Regions from separate parts of the Homo sapiens genome. Here region 2 is linked to region 1. The links are contacts of gene promoters, found by promoter capture Hi-C in human tissues and cell types (Jung and others, 2019). All regions are on one chromosome and are shown on one strand. The core of a region is centred on a gene start or on the middle of the fragment in contact, and the rest is flanking DNA. Distances in the headings are between cores, read along the strand shown.

The links. The method cuts DNA at HindIII sites, captures the fragments that hold promoters and counts their contacts. A contact is called where the count stands out against the background at its distance.
Region 2: a contact is called between a fragment that was not itself captured here and the fragment with the promoter of RAB31 in region 1, in 1 of the 25 tissues and cell types used here (lymphoblastoid cells).

The regions. Positions count from the first base shown.
Region 1 is chr18:9,706,087-9,712,391 of GRCh38, forward strand. It overlaps RAB31 (RAB31, member RAS oncogene family), which reads left to right and starts at 2,215. Exons shown (of 7, transcript NM_006868.4): 1 at 2,215-2,358. The coding sequence starts at 2,320. LOC124904244 (a long non-coding RNA gene) reads right to left here and starts at 1,886. Exons shown (of 2, transcript XR_007066281.1): 1 at 1-1,886. It overlaps LOC105371981 (a long non-coding RNA gene), which reads left to right and starts at 2,586. Exons shown (of 2, transcript XR_935131.2): 1 at 2,586-3,907. RefSeq lists silencers at 1,910-2,479, 2,580-2,809. The HindIII fragment of the contact is 12,091 bases long and covers 1-6,234 here.
Region 2 is chr18:8,659,853-8,666,157 of GRCh38, forward strand. No RefSeq gene overlaps it. Among named protein-coding and RNA genes, the nearest start is that of RAB12-AS1, 27 kb to the left of the region's middle. RefSeq lists enhancers at 1-444, 2,415-2,999 and a silencer at 127-298. The HindIII fragment of the contact is 5,249 bases long and covers 1-4,860 here.

The sequences.
Region 1 (6,305 bases), core at 965-3,464:
TGGGCCCTTAGTACAGTAATCATAGAGTGTAACAATAGAGAACATGGCACTTTTTTAAAAAGTCGAGAGCTGCCTCTGACGTGTCACTCTTAAAATATGTCTCCCAGCAGTCATCTTCCTGCCTTCCAGGGCTAGAGCTTTGTAGGTTACCTTAGGGTGATCATGGGGACCTGGTTTTCATGAGGCCATGTTTAAGCTCAGGGGTGACCTGGCTGGGAAGAGGGTATAAACCCATGAACACGAGTCAGTTGACAGACTAGGATTGCCACTTTGTAAAGAAGAGCCCAAGACCTGATCAGAATGAGACACAAATGAGGTCATTTTTAACAGAACTAGGGGAGGGGAGAAGGACAAATAGACTGGGGCGATTCTCAGGGAGGGAAGGGCTGGATACGAGACTCTTTTGGGAGAGCCTAGAAACGACGCAAGCGTCCCAGACACCCGGGCTAGTGGAGAAGAGAGCAGAATGAGAGCAGTCATGAAAAAGAGTAAGGGAACACAAGAGAAATTCGGTTTGCCTATTTCTGTCTGGGCACAGTTCTGCCCTTAGCAATCTAAGGCAACTTCACAAAGCTCCACTCACTGCACGGGATGTAGAACACAGTGGAGGCTTCCACCCTGGTTTGACTGGCTTTTGGGAATCAAGCTGGAAAGCCAAAAGGACATGTTTCACTGTGGAGGTGCCCTCAGGGCTGGCGAAGGCCTTGGGGGAGGTGTCTTTGCAACTGTGTAGGGGTGGTTTTCTGATTAGCAAATCTGAGGGCAGGGAGATATTGTGATCAGGACTGTTTGATTCTGGGGAAGCCTCTTTTTACCCTGCCCACATAGAAGACTCTGCTTTGGATACAGAGTCAAGGACGGATACTGATACAATGGACCTGTAACTTGTCCATGGCTGCCTTTTGTACAGTTTAGTCCATTTGAGTAATCTCTACAAGCCTGCACCTCGAGGGCAAACTTCCTGCTCTTCTGGGGAATTTAATTGTGAATTGTCTGTTTCGGGGCCCATTTTGACTCCTGTATTCCAGGACTTATCTCTTTGGAGGCCTTGATTTGGAATTTCCCATTGGATGGGGCTACTTGGGTACTGGGTAGCTTCAACCTGGCTTCCGTAAGAACAAAGCCAGATGATCACGGTGGGTGGTCTGCTAGGAGAATGGAAATGCCATTGATTAAAATTGGAAGGTTAAGAGAGAGGCCTGAGAGTTTGGGATAGGAGATGAAGTTTCAAAAAATCAGTTTTTAAAAAAACATTTCCCATCTGAAATGCCAGTGAATTGTTCAGATAGATTACATTGAAAAGGCTGACATTTCTGTAGCAGCAACGAATGAAGTCATCCGAGTGGATGAGGTGCTCTAGGCCATACATGGAGAAGAGAACACAGTTACCCAAGCCTCCCCGACTGTGTGCGGCCACAGACTCTGCTCATTTCCCAGTTAGGAACGATGCAGGGGTCTGCTGGGATCTCCACGTTTCTACCTGTACCTCTGAGGACTGGGTTTCTGCCCACACGAGTTGCAGGATTTGCTCTACTGAGAAAAAGACTTTTGCTCCAGAAAGCAAGTTTCCCGTTTCAGACACGGACAGCGAGTTTTGCTTCTAGAATCATTTTCAGCTGCATACAGAAAAATGAACTTGGCTGAGCTGAAGAGCCACACATATGTTAAACGGAAGCTCGGGTATTAGGAACGTCGAGAAAGGCAGGCCGAAAAGTTAGCCCCCTTCTCCTCACCCCTGTCCTCACAGCGGCCCCTTCAGTGGCCTGACTTTTTCTGCGTGGGACCCAGAATGTCGCTTGAGGATGGGACCCCCGCAGACCTCCACGCGCTGCCACGCAAACGGCCTCGGCCGAGAGCATTCGCTTTCCAGATGAGAATGGCATCTTCAGGGACCCGCTGGTAGTGGGGCCAGGTCTCCACAGGGCCGGTCCAGTCCTTCCTACCCACCCGGGCCCTGCGGCCAGGCGGGGCCGGGAGGGGCGGATGCCGGAGGGCGCTGGGGGAGGCCGACCCGCGCGGGGCTGGTCCGAGGGCGGAGGCAATCCGCCGGCGACGCCGCAGGTCCCGGGTGGCTGACGCCGTCCGGGGGCGTTCCTGGGAGCTGGGGGCCGGCGAGGCTGGACCCGACGCGCCCGGGAGGAGCCGGCCGGCGGCCACGTGACCCACCGCGGCGGGGCCGGCGGCCCAGAAATAGCAGCGGCGGCGGTTCCGCCCGCGGGCGGCGCGAGCGAGGGGCAGAGGCGAGAGACGCCGGCGGGGCGCGGGCGCGGCGGCCCCGGAGGATGCTGCTGAGCCCCGGCACTGCCTGGCTGCGAGCACATGATGGCGATACGGGAGCTCAAAGTGTGCCTTCTCGGGGTGAGTCCTGGCCGCCACCCGCCGGCGGACCCCGGCCCGCGCTCTCGCGCCCCTTCGCTCCCCTATTCCCTGCGCGCTCAGTCCCCGTGATCCCCTCGCTCTCCGCACCCCTCTCGTAGCCCCCGTCCCCCTCGTCCGCGCGCCCCCTGGTTCCCCGGGTCCCCCTGGCTCCCCTAGTCCGTGCGCCCCTCGCTCTCCGCGCCCCTCGCTCTCCGCACCCCGCCTGTTCTCCGCCTCCCCGCCGTCCGTGCGCCCCTCTGGTCCGCCCCCGCTCTCACCCTGCCGGGGTCCGGGTCCGAGCCTGCCCCGGGCTTACTCCGCTCTTTCCTCCCGGCCCGCGAGTCCCCGGATCCGCGGCGACCTCGCGGGGACCCCCAGCGGGGACGGGGCAGTGGCGGCGAGTCTGGGGCCCCGAGGGCTTTCTCCTCCGCTTTTGATAGTTTCCTTCCGGCAGAAAGTTTAAGTTGCTCAGCCAAGTCGCTGAGTGCTCTTTTGCCTCCTGGGGGCAATTGATTTACTCACGTAAAACAGAAAAATAAAACCAAAAGCGAACCCAGCCAAGGGGGTGAAAGCCGAGGGCGCGGCCGGGGTGGAAGGTGAGGCAGTGACCTGTGCGGAGCGCGCCCTGCAAACTTCCCTGCTGCGGGTGAAAGAAGCTGCCTGGGAAAGTCCTCCCCACCATCACTCCCCTAAAGTGGGGTTTTCTCCGCCCGAAGAAGCCTTAAAGCAGCCAGAAACAAAAAAGCAGTCAATCCGTGCGGCCCGGGGACTGCAGACAGGGGACCCGGCGAGGACGCAGGGAGCCGCTGGCGAACCGCCCCTGGGAATTCAGATAAACGTAGGGTCGCTTCCTTTCGGGGGCCCACTCCGCATTCCAGAATTCCTTCTTCTAAAAGAAGAGCCGGTTCTAAGGGCGTTTTCAGCAGCCATTAGCATCTGGTGTACCCGCCCGTGTCATTGGCAAAGCTGGTCTCATGAAAACCATTTCCTAAAAAAGGGCAGCGAAAGGGTCGCATTCTTGTGCGAACTGATCTGTCAAGATGGGGGTACAAGAACTGTAGAAAGAGGAAATGATTTCGGTGAGGACTGAATTGTGCCAGCGTCTCTAGGCTTCCTCTAGGCTCTTGTGGAACCTCCGGCAGGCTCCCATCATCGGCTCCCATCACCGGCCTCTTCCAAAACCATCCCTTACGCTAACTCGATTGTCCGGTTGGCTTAGAATTCCAGAGGATCTGGGAAGGCCCTGCCCTCCCTGCTAGCCCCTGGCACAGATCCGCACAGATCCCCACCTCCCCCGACTTGCTCAGCCACAGCCAGGATCTAGTCTGGTCTTTCTCTGTTGACCTTTTTGTGTGGCAGGAGTGGGTTTTCCTGTTCCCCAGGCCCTCTAATATTTCCAGACATAAATTCCAGGAATCCCATGCTTCCCTCTTGAGGGGCCATTTCAGCCTCAGGAAAGGCCTTCAGAGACTTAGAAGGAATGTCGTGTTCCAAGGAATGAAGAGGCAGCCTTGATGTGCCGTGTTTGTCAGGACTGGCCTTGGGAAAGGTGAAATAGGACATATTTTTGCCTTTTTTTCTGCAACTCTTTTCTCTTGACTTTTACTGAGGTGGTCCAAGCCCTGCCGTGTCACAGGACCCCTTATTTTCAGTTTCGGTGTTTAGGGACAGGTCTCTATGTCCTCCTACCAGGACACTGATCAGGTGGCAAGAACCCTGTGTCAAGAGGCAGGAAACCTAGGCTCTCGTTCTTTCCCACCAAAGAGCTGTGTCGTTTTAGCAAAGCAACTCAGTGGCCTCATCTATGAAATGGGCATAATAACATGTTCCCCCTTTAGGCAGAGGACTACACCAGATGATCTCTTAAGATACATGTTACCATTTCCTGCTAATCTATGAGTTCAGGGTGCCAATTAGCAAACCTGGGAGAGGAGGAAGCTGGAGGAAATCTCTTTACTTCTTTTATCTCCAAGAAAGATACACACTCTTTGAGTGGCTTCCTGCAGACAGTGCCTTACCTTTGCCAGTTCTGTGTGTAGGAATTTGAACTTGGAGTTGGAAGAACCATGCCAAAGCAGAGAAAGAAGAGGTTTCTGGGCAGACGGAGGCTTTGAAACATCAATCGTGGCCGGTCGCGTTGGCTCACACCTGTCATCCCAGCACTTTGGGAGGCTGAGGCGGGGGGATCATTTGAGGTCAGGAGTTCAAGACCAGCCTGGCCAACATGGTCAAACCCCGTCTCTATTAAAAATACAAAAAAAAGTTAGCTGGGCGGTAGCGGCGCATGCTTGTAATCCCAGCTACTCGGGAGGCTGAGGCAGGAGAATCGCTTGAGCCTGGGAGGTGGAGGTTGCAGTGAGCCGAAATCACGCCACTGCACTCCAGTCCGGGCGACAGAGTGAGACTCTATCTCAAAGAAAAGAAAACAAAAGAAAAGAAACATCAGTCATATCACACCACATTTGTGGCTTCCTTTTTTTTTTTTTGAGGGTGGCTGTAAGTTTCAGTTTTATTGAAATCAGAGGACATTTTATTTGAAAGACCAAATGACCTTGTTGTCCACACTGAGTAAGATTTGCCACATCCCCTCGTTTGGCTGGCTCTTTCCTGGGTGAGATGTGTGCAGCAGGCTGTGTTTCTAGCTGCTCATCCAATTAGGCTGATTCTCTGGGTGGGATAACATTGAGGGAGATCAAAACCATTTGACTGTCTTCGGTTTACTCTCTTCTCTCTCTCTCTCTCTCCTCTTTTTTGTTTTGAGACAAGGTCACATTCTGTCATCCAGGCTGGAGTGCAGTGGTGCCATCATAGCTCACTGCACCCTCCAACTCCTGGGCTCAGTGGATCCTTCTGCATCAGCCTAGGTTTATTCTCTTGATTCGAGAGACCCTGTGGATCAGTCAGTGCTAAGTCCAAAAGTCCTTTAAAAAATATATGTATATTTTTGAGATAGGGTCTCACTCTGTCACCCAGGCTGGAGTGCAATGGTGCCATCCTGGCTCACTGCAGCCTCAGCCTCCCAAGCTCAGGTGATCCTCCCACCTCAGCCTGCCAAGTAGCTGGGACCACAGGTGTGTACCACCCAGCCCAGCTAATACTTTTTATTATTTTTGTAGAGATGGGGTCTCCCTATGTTGCCCAGGCTCTTTCAACATTTTAACAGGAACCTTGGGCTCATTTGTGCTTTGCGTAGGGAGGTCTGTCTTTTCTGGGTGAAGTTTTGTGTGTGGCTGGCATTCAGCTTCCTGTTTTTTAGCCATGAGACACCTCCCTGAAGTCTTGCTATGACCAAGACCCTGACAGCCACACCTTCTTTCTGCCTGTTAGAATCACTTTCTGTCGGGTTTCCCTTATAAGGTGATAGAGAACATAGACTTCATAACAAAATATCACTCTCACTGGGAAGGCTGAGGGGTTGGTCTTTTTGTGCCTGGTACTGTGCTCAGTGGGGACTTGGGGACATGCTTCGCATTTAAGGTATAGGTTGTTTTAGGCATGGGCAGTAGGCGCTTTCAGCACAGGCTCCCTGCTGGTCACTCTTTGCTGTAGTTTCCTGCTCCATCCATGGGGTCGGAGGTCTTACCTCCTGACGTTAGAGTCATTTGCAGCAGGTGGGAGTGAAAGTGGGCCGGGTGCCAGGTCTTCTTTACCTGAACCTCTCCTGTCTTCCTGGCACATTAGGAATGTCCAAGCTTATTTCTATTGGTGAATGCTCCCACATGGGATGGATAATGGCCTGTGGAACATTCTCTGAATGCTTTGTGTTCTTGGAAAACCAAGGACTGAAGAGCGTTGGGTTTGTTTAGGTTACCTGTTATAAATTCTTGGCTCACATTTCATGTGTGGACTTTCTTGGGTTTATTCCACATGGGGACAGCCCAGCAAGCCTTTGTGAACGCCCTTTCCTGGCCTGAGCCGAGTCACCTGTGGAAGTCAGCCGTGCAGGA
Region 2 (6,305 bases), core at 986-3,485, 1.0 Mb before region 1:
GAGCCTCGCCCGGCCCTGCGCTTCCCGAGAGTTCGCCGGGAGCACAAGCCCTGGAGAGCCCATGGGCAGAGCTCACCAGCCCCACCTCACAGAGAGGGAAACTCCGAAGTGGCCGTGGATTTGCCCAGGGTCACCCAGTGACAGACAGCTCAGACTCCTTTCCCAGCTCCGGCCACCGAAGCTTGCAGGCGCGTCCGTTCCAGCTCAGATAAGCACCTCCGCCACGCTTTCCTCACGCCTTCATCCGATCTGGTGTTTCCCGGCCTGAGGTTTGGTTTTAGCACGCAGCAAGCACTTCCGTTGAAGCGTTAATCGAGTTTTATTTTGACTAGCTCTTCCGTCTCTTCCAAAGATACCTCCTGATTTCTACCACCACACGCCAGTTTTGCAGTTGTTGAATATTATACAGGTGGACTCCCAAGGTATCCCATTGCTGGGCTTTTACAAAACACTCACTGGCTATGTTCCTATCGGCTCTGGTATCGGTGGCCTGTGAGCTACTCACTCACAGAGCTCAACCTTCCTGCAGGTACCAGTCAGGACTAACTTCTGGAAAGAGAAGCCTTAATTTAAAAACATAAAAAATAAATTTTAAAAAAAGCTTTCCTACCAAATTCCTGATTGGTAACTGTAGTAACAAATTCAGGTCGGCTTCCCTGACCTTGGCTTCTGACAGTCTGGGATTCGTCACAGCTTCCTGGATGAGTCTCTAGAATGTTTTAAAATATTTTTAATTTTCATGGGTACATAGAGTCTCTAGAATATTATGAGACGTGTATACAAAAAGTCCAAGCCTGGGCAAAATAGTGAGACCCTGTCTCTACAAAAAATAAAACAATTTAGTCAGGCTTGGTGACACAGGCCTATAGTCCCCACTACTCAGGAGGCTGAGGCAGGAGGATCGCTTGAGCCCAGGAGTTCAAGGCTACAGTGAGCTGTGATCACACTATTGCACTCAGTCTGGGTTGACACAGTAAGACCCTGTCTCTAACAAAAAGAAAACGAAAAATCCATATGTGATAATCCATGCCAAATAAAGTTAATCATGATCATTACAAAATGAAAGTAATTTCCGTGCTTTACAAAATGATTCACTATTAAGTTACTTTAAATAGTAAGCTCTCTTCCTATGTTTTAAAATAGATGATCTAAATGAATTGAACCAATTTTCAGGAATATATTCATACCTATATCAAGGCATACCTGATTGGACCCTATATAATTTTTGTTCATTTATTTATTTGTCCCTCGATTTGTCCAGCCTGCCTTATTGATCAGCCGCCCCGGAGGGGAGGGGACTTGGGAGTGAGGTCCTGTGGAGGAGGAGGGGGTGAGAATGGAAACTGTGGGTTGTCTATCTTAATGTGATTTTCCTGACTCAGTGGGCTGGCGAAGACTGCTTGGCATTTGAGACATAGCTACTTCTTGGTCTGTCTCCCAACTAGATTGTGAAGTGCTTGAGGACAGGGGACATTTCAGTCTGAATGTGTCTGCCAAGAAAAAGAGCAGGAGAGAGGAAGGAAGGAAGAGAAAAAGGGAGGGAGGGAGGGAAGAAGGAAGGGAAGGAAGGAAGAAAATTGTATATAATAGCCGTAATGTCTGTGTAGGTACATAAATGGATACATAGATACATTTAAACCACAGCCTTACAGTTATTCAAGTATTGCTACTTCTTTATAATCTGAGACAGAGAAAGAGCAGTCATTACTCTCTCATACAAGCTTCTTTTTCGTATTGTAACCTGAGAATTTAGCATTAATTGCTACAAAGGAAGCAAATAAAACTCACTTGTGAAAACACAAATTGCCCTGCTGCCTTTTGCTTTTTTTGCCTGTTGATATAAATTGAAAAATACACCAGGAACAATCAAACTTGCAGTCGATGGCATTGACTGGAAGAAGGATTAGGAAGTGAGAGAACAGGTTAAAATGTGGTCCACAATTCTCAGCGATGGCTGGAGATCAGGCTTCACCAGGGAGGAGGGTTAGCTCAAGGCTCAGGCTCGTTTAAATATTTTCCCCTTCCTCTCCTTCCTGTGAATTTAACCAGGAAAACAGCACAGTCTGTCACCTAGGTAACTGGCTCTCCTGCTGACTGGTGGAGATTGGAAACCGCACCCTTTCTCACTGCAAATTTGCATTCGCAGCTGGGCTTCGGGTGACCTCGCCAGAGGACAGAAAGCTAATCCAATCCTGCTGCTGAATGAGGGTGCCCGGTCCTACCTGGTCCACCTGACAGGCATCTGCCTCTGTAAGGAGTCTGTTTAAGGGTCCCGCGTGCCCATTGCTTTCCTTCAGAAGGAGGCTGGAAAATGCTTTTGATTTGAAAATGATGAAAATGAAAATGGTCCTTGGATTGTCACTTTGTGCAAAACCCTGTATTTCTAATTGGGAGAACATCGCTTCTCCCAACCATGTTCCCGAAGAGCCTGCAGGTTAGGCTGGCTGAGATGAGGACAAAGACCTTGGGTGCCCAGTTTAGTCATGTTAATTAAAATAAAAAATTGAAGTGGGGAGGCGTGAGGAGAATGTGCCTGGACAATAGGAACCCCAGGCCGTGGTCGTCAGCTCAGTGTTTGTTCACAGCCGCTCCTTTCTTTGCCCCATTGTGCTGTCAGCTCGGTGACTTCTGAGAGGGGCTGGGCGCCAGCTGTATGCAAAGTGCAGAGGCCCTGGGGCGGGTGCCTGGGGAGAGGGGCTGCCTGCATCACTTCTGTGTTACTCGTTTTCTCTTCTCCTCATGGAATAACAGCTAATTCACACCTTTATGTAATATCGGCGAACTCACACCTTCATGTGATAACGGCTAACTCACACCTTCATGTGATAATAACAGCTAACTCACGCCTTTAGTTGTAGGTGTTATTCTCAGGACTTCCGTGTCTAAAATGACTTCACCCTGACCATAATAACCTAGGAGATGGGCACTGTTCATGCTGATTTGAGAAAGGGGCAATCCCAGATGCAGGCAGCGGAAGTGATTTGTGCAGGCCTCATGGCCAGTAACTGACTCCTGACACCCTTGGCACCGGCCACCCCCCAACTCGCCCCTACATGCAGGTGGGTTCAGCTCAGCAGAAGAGGGCACTCAATGCCCTTGAGAGCAGGTGCGGGACCCAGGCTGCAACTGGCCTTGCTAACTTGTCCCTGGCGTCCTCACTCGCTGTCTGGCCTGGCAAGCCCGCGGTGAGCTCCCATCTGTCCCCTGTCATCTGCGAGCTGCGCTATGGAACTGATCTGAAGGGCCATCCGCCTCCCCCTCCACCCATGCTCCCCAACCTTGACTGCTCCCTTAGTGATCCCTGTAGGACAGGCGGAAGCCAAAGGAAAGGAAAAGAGAGGCTGCATGGGTACCTAGGAAAACGCCTAGTTAAGAGGCATTATCTGAGCTCCTTCCGAGTGCCAGTCCCAGCTTGGAATGGGGAGATGCACTGCCAGTGAGGTAGGCAGGGTCCCGGTCCTCCAGGCTGACCTGCTGACCCGCAGGGGACACAGACAGGAGGTGCAAGGGAGCAGCAGGGCCTGAGGGGATGCACATGTTGCCACAGGATCAAGAGTGAAGAAGCTGAGGTGAGGGCTGTGACTTCCCTAGGTGCTCAGAGAACGCTCCCGAGGCTGAGGCCTGCCCGCCAAGACATTAGGGGGAGGACAGCCTCAAGCAGACCTGGGGACAGGCCCCCAGCAGGGCTCAGGAGCAGAAACCGGCCAGATGCACCCAGCAAGCAGAGGACAGTGGCCAAGGGAGGTGAGTGGCTCACATGACTCGCAGGCCTTGGAGAGGGATCTGCACTTCATTCTAACTGCAATTTTTCACCCAAGAGAAAGGAAGGTAGCCTCGGGTTGGGAGGGACCCATTGTGCAATTTGTTGTAAGGTCAATACACACCTGAGGTGAGCAAAGACCCACTGTGAGTGATCGGAAGAGGGATCATATCCTTCCAATATCTGTGATCGATCCCATCCAACCCTCCCTTTTATGCATGGTGCCTGACGTGGATGCTGCTTCCTCAGATCTACATGTTCAGTACACAGCAGAGCCTAAACTGGAGGTCAGTCTGGTGAGGGTTCTGGTTTGCCCCAAAGAGATGTGGGGTGAATGAGAGAGTGATGGCATCAGGCTCATTTGCTGACCAGAACCCTGGGCTGACCTAGAGAACGGTAACGAAAGCACAGGATAGATGAAGAAGTGGGAGAAATGGGGCCGTGTGTGTGTGTGTGTGTGTGTGTGTGTGTGTGTGTGTGTGTGTGTGTTCTAATATAGGAATGTGCTTGCAATATTACAATATAATGGCAAGTGAAAAAGAAAGGAAACTAAAGAAAAGATAAGGATTTGGAAAGTTCAGTATTTTGACAAAGAGAGAGAACTAAAGACAGAAAAGAAGAAACTGTTCAACAAATAAAGAGATCAGGTTTTTATTTGTTTTTACTGTGAAAAGGAATCATTTGCTACCTACCTCAAAGATACTGAGCCCAAGTCCCTGCTCTGAAATTCAAGCACACTTGTCAAAAATCTAAAACAATTTTCATTCAGTAATAGACACTCAAGCCTTTGGTAAAGATAGGATATCTGGAATAAAGTCAGTTCCCCAACCTCACATAATACACATAAAGTAGGTCAAAATAGGTCCAACTAAAACTCTTAGAATAAAACTCAGGAGTAAATCTTCATGACTTTGGGTAATGTCTTCTTAAATATGGCATCAATTGCACAAAACAACAAAAGGAAAAAACAGATATAGTAGACTTCATCAAAATGATAAACTTTCGTCAGGAGTTCGAAACCAGCCTGGGCAACATAGCAAGACACTGTCTCTATAAAAAATTAAAAATTAAAAACTTTTGTGCTACAAACTATCAAGAAAGTGGGAAAACAATGCACAAAAAATGTTGTCTGTATCAAAATCTTTGCAAATCATGTCTCTGACAAGGACTTATATCCAGAATATATAAAGAATTCTTACAATTCAATAATGAAAACACAACCTAATTTTAAAAATGGGCAAATAATTTGAATAGACATTTATCCAAAGCAGGTATACCAATGGCCAAAGCACATGGAAAGATGCTCAACATCGCTAGTCATTAGGGAAATGCAAACCAAAACCAGAATGAAAGCCTTCTTAATACCCAAGAGGATGGCTATTATCAGAAACATACATACTACCAAGTGTTGGTGAGGATGTGGTGAAATTGGAACTCTCTTACACTGATGGTGGGAATATTGAAGGGTGCAGCCACTTTGGGAAAAAAAATCGGTAGTTCTTCTGTTACTGGTGGAGGGTCTTGACTGCAGGTTGTCCAGTTTCTAGGCATTTCGAACAAAGAATTGGACAAAATGCACAGCAAAGCAAGGAAAGAATGAAGCAACGAAAGCAGAGATTTACTGAAAATGAAAGTATACTCCATAGCGTGGGAGCGGCCCAAGCAGCAGCTCAAGGGCCCCGGATAGAGAATCTTCTTGGGTCCAAATACCCTCTAGAGGTTTCCCATTGGCCACTTGGTGTTCACCCCATGTAAATGAAGTGGTGGCCTGCAATCAGTCTGATTAGTTGCGGAAAGCAACCAATCAGAAGCTAAAGTGAAGTTACAAAGATGCACTCCTATGCAAATGAAGACTTGGCCTACAGTCAGAGGCTGAAGTTACAAAGCTACCTTCCTATGCAAACGTCTGGTTGCAGAAAGCAACCAATTAGAGGTACTTCCAATTTTCCATCTGCCTTGCAGAAAAGGTGGGGGTTTGCAAAGAGAGTAGCCTCTGGTCCTTTTGGTACTTGGGCATGGAAAGCTGGGATTTTTCTTTTGATTTAGTTCTAGGAAGTCAGGGTGAATCAGCCTTAGGTTTCCTGCCTCCAGATCCTATTCTCCCCCACTTCAAAAAGTTAAACATATTACCATAAGACCCAGCATATGACTCACCATATGACTCAGCCACTTCTACTCTCTTGGATATATATTCGATAGAAACAAAGACATATATCACATACACACTTGTACTTGGATGTTCAGAGCAGCATTATTCATAAAAGCCAAACCCAGAAACAATGCAAATGTCCATCAACAGATAAACGGAGAAGCAAAACGTGGTCTATACATACAATGAAATATTACTTGGCTGGGTGCCATGGCTCACGCCTGTAATCCCAGCACTTTGGGAGGCTGAGGCAGGTGGATCACCTGAGGTCAGGAGTTTGAGACCAGCCTGGCCAACATGGTGAAACCCCGTCTCTACTAAAAATACAAAAATCAGCTGGGCATGGTGGTGCATGCCTGTAATCCCAGCTACTCGGGAGGCTGAGGAAGAAGAATC